2 separate regions of the Homo sapiens genome follow, and region 1 is linked to region 2. Evidence: promoter capture Hi-C in human tissues and cell types (Jung and others, 2019). All regions are on one chromosome and are shown on one strand. Each heading gives the region's core, a stretch centred on a gene start or on the middle of the fragment in contact. The rest is flanking DNA. Distances are from core to core; before and after follow the strand shown. Region 1 overlaps LOC124902009 (a long non-coding RNA gene). Region 2 holds the start of TNFRSF11B (TNF receptor superfamily member 11b).

The links. Contacts are between HindIII fragments. The study calls those that stand out against the background at their distance.
Region 1: a contact is called between a fragment that was not itself captured here and the fragment with the promoter of TNFRSF11B in region 2, in 1 of the 25 tissues and cell types used here (mesenchymal stem cells).

Annotation. Positions count from the first base shown.
Region 1 is chr8:119,358,956-119,363,123 of GRCh38, forward strand. All of the region lies in intron 1 of LOC124902009 (a long non-coding RNA gene), which reads right to left. Among named protein-coding and RNA genes, the nearest start is that of MIR548AZ, 36 kb to the left of the region's middle. The HindIII fragment of the contact is 4,422 bases long and covers 590-4,168 here.
Region 2 is chr8:118,950,552-118,954,137 of GRCh38, forward strand. TNFRSF11B (TNF receptor superfamily member 11b) reads right to left here and starts at 1,334. Exons shown (of 5, transcript NM_002546.4): 1 at 1,241-1,334. The coding sequence starts at 1,270. It also overlaps a transcript of COLEC10 not described here. The HindIII fragment of the contact is 2,925 bases long and covers 975-3,586 here.

The DNA of each region.
Region 1 (4,168 bases), core at 1,551-4,050, 410 kb after region 2:
TAAGATTCCAAGTTCATGTGATAGTTCATATAAAATTCTCTTCTTATTTTTTTTCTCTGTTTACTTTCCTCCTTAGTTTATTTCTTTCCAAATTACTGTGAGTATGTGGAAGGAGAAGGGGAGGGGCAGTTGTTAATACAAAATCTCAAGATGTTGTCCACTAATCTTTCACCATACTGTTTCTGGCAATTGGACATTGCCAGAAGTTAATAATTGAGCCTCATTAAAATCTTCTATTTCTTTCTTTACCACTACATTTGGCAAATTAGAGCATGTGTGTATCTAAATGAATACTTCCTGTTGTTTTTTAAATTTTTTTAAATGTAGGGAGAAAAAAGTCCTGTGATTCTGGTTTCTTTCCAATATTTTAACACTATTATTTTCTTATATGCTTTTTTTATACATTGGAAAAGTTAAACATAATTTATTTGATAATATGTCTCATATGATAATATCATTGATACCAGAATCTGTGTTGTAATACTTCATAATCCTGGGATAATTTAGAAGAGAGTCAAATATTACATAGCTAGTATAATTTTACTGTCATACAGGTCACAGGCCTCAAGCTCGACTCAGAGGAATTTCTACAAAGATTCCATGTATCTTACTGATACACTATATATCACTGACTCTGTTCTCCATTTTCCCTCTTCTTTTCCATGATTCTTAACAATAGGGCAGAGGAATAGAACATAACACCATCTTATCTAGGAACATTGTCTCTTCCTTGGAGATGCTTATCCTAACACCATAAAGATGATAGTATATTTGGGACATCCATAGTGCACTGAATTTTCTACATGAGAAGGGTTCTTCCTTATCATAGAGTTGTTAGGGGAAAAAAAGCCATAATATTGTTAAGAAGATAACTAGAAAAAAAGAGAACAATTATTCAAAAATCATTGAAACACGAACTAGGAGAAAGTATTAGACAGTTGTAGAAGAGAGGAATATGAGCTTCAAATACTGCTTCAATATTAAACCCCTTTATATACACTAACACCAGACCTCTGAGTCACTAGGCCTCTTTTCACATTATCCTTCTTTTAGTGTCTTCTCAAAACAATCCCTACAGCCTTGCTATAAATATTTGAATAACTTCCAAGTAATCACCTGGATTCTTCTTAAAAGACCCCAGGATAGAAAACTCACTGGTTTGTAGGTCAGCCCAGTGCATCACCAAAAAGTTCATACCTCATACTCATAGGAAGCGATTGGCCTATTTTTAAATTTTAAAAGTAGAATAAAATTATATCTGATCCTTATAACTATGATAGAGATTTTCTGCTATATAAGCAAAGGCTAAGAGGAAACACTGGCCAATGAAAGGAGCAGTAGAACCATATGTGAAATGATGTTTTTTAGAATACTACCTAGAATCAATAATGTTGATTAAGAAAAGGGAAGAATAGGCTGCGCACAGTGGCTCACGCCTGTAATCCCAGCACTTTGGGAGGCCAAGGCAGGCGGATCACTTGAGGTCAGAAGTTCGAGCCCAGCATGGCTAATAAGGTGAAACCCATTCTCTACCAAAAAATACAAAAATTTGTCTGGTGTAGTGGCATGCATCTGTAGTCCCAGCTACTGGGGAGGCTGAAGTGGGAGAACGGCTGGAATCTGGGAGGCAGAGGTTGCAGTGAGCCGAGATTATACCACTGCACTCCAGCCTGGGTGATAGAGTGAGGCCCTGTCTCAAATTTAAAAATAAAAAAAGAAACGGGAAGAATGCTGTGCTTTATATTAAATCAAAACCCTCTCTCTCTCTCTCTCTCTCTCTCTGTATTTTCAGTGCCTAAAACTCTGCCTGGCATATAACGCTTAATACACATTTTGTGGAATATATGAATGTGAGATCTTTCTATTAATACTACATCAAACCATTGAGACCTCACACAACAGGTATATTTCCTTTTCTACACAACAGGTACCATGGTCTCTAGGGACTTCCCTTGTCTAGGATGAACATTTCTGATTCCTTCAACAGTTCCTAAAAGTTCTTATATTGACTGCCCTTCACTTCACGCCAGCAGTAGGACTTCGAAGTTGCCCAGCATAGAGCCTAATATTGCCTCTCAACAATATTTTGGGTGAGATATGTCAAGGTAAGTGCTGGAGTGAGAGGAGTAAGGGGAGTGAGCTCACTTGCCTGAAAAAAAGAAAAGCCAAGTTTTTTTTTATTTACCTGATTTGCTTTCTGAGCACCTCCTTATAGCCTTTTAGAGATCATTCTTCCCAATGCATCTCAACATTCTTTTTCCACCCCTGAGGCAGTCACGTAAGGATCTTTTACCTCCTCTCCTTCGCTGCCACAGAACTGGATGTTCTTTCCAGATTCTCACATGATCGTGGATTCTCTCAATCCTCACTTCTTTTTATTTTTATTTATTTATTTATTTATTTATTTATTTATTTATTTATTTATTTATTTTTGAGACGGCGTCTCACTCTGTCTCCCGGGCTGGAGTGCAGTGGCACGATCTCCACTCACCGCAACTTCTGCCTCCCGGGTTCAAGTGATTCTCCTGACTCAGACTCCCAAGTAGTTGGGATCACAGGCACCCGCCACCATGCCTGTCTAATTTTTGTATTTTTAGTAGAGATGGGGCTTTGCCATGTTGGCCTGGCTGGTATTGAACTCCTGACCTCAGGTGATCCACCCGCCTCAGCCTCCCAAAGTGCCGGGATTACAGAAGTGAGCTACTGCACCTGGCCCTCACTTCTTTATGCTGATCTCTACCTTGAGTATTCTGTGATGCAAAAATACATGAGAAAATGGGGCCATCACTTCAAATGCAGTTTTTGTTCGATCATCATTTTTCACATCTTGTTGACATTTGGAGAAGAGTACAATATGAAGCTTCTTTTGTATTTCCACCATGAAATTTAGCAAGTTTGAATCAATCCTTTGTGAGGCCCATCCTTTTCCTCCCCCATTAGAATGAAATATAGCTTTAAGCTTGAGTTATGTATCTTAGAATATGGTTTAACAAAAGCTAAAACCTAAAAAAAAAAAAGGGCATGGCATCCTTGGTATTTGTGGGTGAACTCTGTGGTGACTGCTTTAATTAATTTATGTAATTGGAATTTCACCAAGACATAAATTTACTCATATCTATTTTTAAAGACAGGAATATTGATCTTGGACCAGCAATAAATTCCTGTAATATTTGTCCTCAGTAAAAAGCCAAGACAATTCTAGGCCATTTCTTTTTGTCTTGAAAACGTTATGCCAAAATCATCATTTTGTTGGCTGCATACATCCTGATTTATATTCGATGAGAGTTATAAAAGGCTTTTATAGTGGAGATGGCCGAGTGACATTTTCCTATAAATCACGATCATTTTTACTGCTACAAAGTTCTAGGACTGAACTTCAAATACAACCGTGCTGTAAACTCTGTGGATGGAACCACATACTTGCTGAATGAGAAACATGTTTCCCTTTCACCATGAGTGACTGCATATTCCAGTCAGTCTCTGGCAGATGAGAGCATCACTAAAACCCAGGGAACCATGCTCAGCTTTGATGAAGCAGCTTGTGAAACGCAGGTCACCCAGAACACCTTTGAATACAGCTATGCTTTCAGCCTCATGAATAATTCAGGTCCATATAGATACTATATGTTGAGCTGAAATAACCTAGCCATTAAAGGTAACAAGAATGAGGGGAAGCTAATTTTGGCAAACATCAGTATTGTGCATCAGAAATATAACACTATAGATCAGAATCCTATTTCATTCAATATGAATCCTTATGAGAATGTCTTCTGATCACAGGGGTGTCATCTTTGCACATAACTCTCCTCATCCTCAAGTGACCATACCTGTTAGATTCAAAGGTAACTTGCTTTTGTAAGAAAGTAGCGTAGAGCAAAGATGAGGGTACCAGGGATTAGAAGCTCTGAATTTTCTTTCAACCCATCTTAGTGAAAAAAAACAACAACCTGGATTTAGAAGGCAGAAGAATGGCTTATGTGATTTTAGAAAAGGGATATTAAACCTCTTCATCCCTAGGTTATTTATCCATAGTCACAGATGTTCTATTAATAATATAGGTGAAAGAAATGTCACCGTATCCCCTACTCCCACTAAAGTAAATTAAACCTGGTTTAAGTATCCACTTACTAAGAGAAGCAAAAGCTTTAGGGCCAATTCTGGATGTTTT
Region 2 (3,586 bases), core at 84-2,583:
CTGTGTGCTAGCTCACAAGTGCTCACTTAGAAAAACTGCATTAGGCACTTACCACTTGCACAATTCTCTATGTGTTATATTTTAATAAAGGTTTACTTTTTTAAAAGCACTCCATAGTATCTCTAGCGATGAAGTTATACACACACACACATACATACATATATATTTTAACATACTTATGGGTAGATTCCTATCCAACTTACCTGTTCTTTAGTGTCTTTACTATTTATTTACTTATTTATGTTTCTGTATCCTAGGAACTAAGTAGAAGACTACCTAGCCTTCTATTCATTATTTGTGGGTTGGAGGTTGAAGTTCAAACATTTACTCAAACACATCCAAAACACATATGTGGCTTAAATATGGCTTTTCCTAGCCTTGCATAAATGTCTGATTCATATCTTGATGTACTCTACACTCTAGTGTCATAGAGAAAATAAGTCATTGGTCATAGAAAAACCTACATGCAAATCTTATTAACTTGATCAAAACCTAAGCTTAAAAAAAAAGCTAAGTCACAGAGATTCCTTTCTTTTCCAAATAACATTTTAAACACAATTTTTAGCCCTATTTAGTGAACTTCAATTCTTTAGATATGTTTTAGAACATAACATACTGCCAATATTCTCCACAGTATATTGAAGTTGAGAAGTGAAATAATTTTAACAATAAAATTTTATTAAAACATTACACAGTTAAGAAGTGTGTGTGTGAGAGATCTTTTCTCCTAATTATTCAAAATTTCACATAATATTTACATTAGAAAAATCTATCATGTCATATTCTAATTATAATGGTTTTAAGAAGACTAACGTCTTCTTCCAACTTACTCTGAATCTAAGGGACCACTTCTTTGCCACTAATAATAAAAGTTCAAGTTCATTAAGCAAAGATAGTATGGACTACATGAGGGCGTTAATATTCTGAGATGAAGACAGAAGGTTAATGACTAAAACTTTCAAACAAGTTTCTCTCTCTCTCTCTCTCTCCCTCTCTCTCGCTGTCTGTCTCTCTCTTGCTGTCTTCCATAAAGTCAGCAGGAACTTTGCAGCGTAAAAGGACACCCTAGGGGAAGCATGGCATAACTTGAAAGCGGTTTCCTGCTCCAGCCTAACCCCAAGCCTCTCCTGGGAGGGAGCGAGTGGAGCCTTCTCCCCGCCGGTCCGCTGGGAGGTTGGGAGACCAGGTGGCAGCAGCCTCCCCAGGCGCCGGGCACCCGTCGGCTGGCCCAGGGACTTACCACGAGCGCGCAGCACAGCAAGTTGTTCATTGTGGTCCCCGGAAACCTCAGGGGCTTGGAGGCGGCGGCTGGGCGAGCGCTCCGGTGCGTCTCCGCAGCCCGTGCGCTCATCACGTTATATATAGCGTCCCGGCAACAGGAAGTATCGCCTGCCTTTGATCAGTCATTTTTCTATCCTGGACCAAACTTTGCACCTTTCTTTTTTAGGAAGCTTGGGCGGGAGCGGTCGGGGGGTGTGCAGAAAGCTCCAGGGTTAACGCTTTCAGGGCTGGGGCGGAAAGGATCCCCCAGGGAGGTGGGGCGTGAGGGGTGGGGCGGTGGTGTCTGGCCCCTGGGAGAGCAGGGGAAAAAAAAGCCACCGGGCTGAGGAACAAGGCGGCTGCTGTCTCCGCGGGGCTCTGAGGTTTCCCGGCCCCTTCCCGCCAGCGGCCAGCCTCCTGGCAGCCGGGACCAGCGGTGGGAGGGCTGGGCACACGCTGGGCAGCTGCTGTGCTTGTGTCTCCTCCACCCTGAGAGTCCGATCCAGCCAAGATCCGGACGCAGTTGGAGTGTGTCCCAGACCTTTGTCCTCTCGCTGGGCGAAAGCTGTGAGTTTCCGCCGTACCCGGCTGCCTGACCCCTTCACTTCGGGTTCTGAAACCTCAAATTACAGGGCCCCTCTTTATGCATGGCATTGTCTGAGCCCTTTTCGGGGAGTTCGCAATCATTCATCTTCAAGTTTACATAAACCATGTAGTAGGAATTTTTCTAACTAATGTCTGATTGGCCCTAAAGCCCGTGCTATTCTGCATTCACTCCTTGTTATCTGGGGTAGTTAGAGCCAGAGAGAATCTGCAGAGTGAAAATTGGACTGCCTGGGGCAGGGATAACCTTGCGGAGCACTGTTCCCTTCACCAACCCCACCATCATCAAAGGGCTATTGGTATCGGAGCTTCCTACGCGCTGAACTTCTGGAGTAGCCTCCTCGAGGTCTTTCCACTAGCCTCAAGCTATCGACAGAAGTTTGGCACTTTGCTCTAGGGTTCGCTGTCTCCCCCATTAATTCCCTGGTCTAGAAGTTAGACTTGATGACTTGTAAAGTGTGGTCCCATTCATGGATTACAGTTCGCGGGTTGCCACTGAAATTGTTTACAGATGGCTGAAAAAGTCCCTGCAGAGCTGCTTCCCCATCAGGGCCAAGTGTTCAAGTTATATGTCTCCAGAGAAGGGCAAATACTGCCTTTCACCAGATTCAAGGGAAGGAAGGTGAAGAATCAGGAGAGGGGACCCCTGGGGAGCAAGGATGGCTTACCAGGATCAGAGCATCTGCCCCTTCCAAGGGACATCCTTCCACCACGAGTTCAAAGTGGATCCACAGACTGTTCCATCCTGCAAATTACAGAAGACGGGGTGTCATTCAGCTTTGTCCCTCAAGGGCCAGAATGTAACAGCATGCTGGTTTCTTAAGTGAACTAGTGAATAAATGTAGCTCAGTGAGTGTGGACAAAATTGTATGACTCCAAATCACTCCTTGTATTTTGAATCGTAGTTTTGACATCTGCAACCTGAGATATCAACACTTAGACTTGCCATGGGACTCAAGTCAATCCAAGTGTTAGTAGTGAAACACAATATAAATAGCAGTATTATTGTTTTTGTTAGAGTAATGTTTGTCTAGGATATTATTTGAAGGTGTTTTTCTCAGAACATAAAATGATGCCAATATGTGGGTGTCAGACCTTGGAGAAAACTAATCAATAACTGAGTCCTTCAGTGTTAACCCTGGGAAAGGTTTACGTCTCCCTGAGCCTCATCTATAAGATAAAAACACACTGATATTGCAGAAACGTAAGAGAAAGCAAATGGGAGCGTTTAAAAAACAATTATATAAATGATGGTAATCACTAATTATGAGCATTAAATAAAGTAATGCATGTAAAATAACTCAGCACAATGCCTGGCCCATAGGAAATATTTCCTATAGTTATGATTATTCTAGGGGAATACCTAAGATACTGGCCTTTGTAACCTAGATTTGAGCCCCAACTCCAATTTTTCCTAGCTCTGTGACCTCAGACTAGTTGCCTAACCTATTTTTGTTTCCATTTTTTGTTATTCCTATAATGAGGATAATAATCACATCTACCTCAAAGTATCATAACGGTTATTATAAAGATTGAATTAGATAAAAGATGTAAAACACTAAAAATAGTGTCCGGCACATAGTGCTCATTAAGTGTCATTATCATCTGAGGTTCTCATGGGGACGTTTGTATGAGCACAAGGCAAATCTAGATTGTAAGCTCCTGAGGGCAGGAACTACTTATTTTTCTATGGTATTCGCTGAAGCTTTTAGCTCAAATTCTG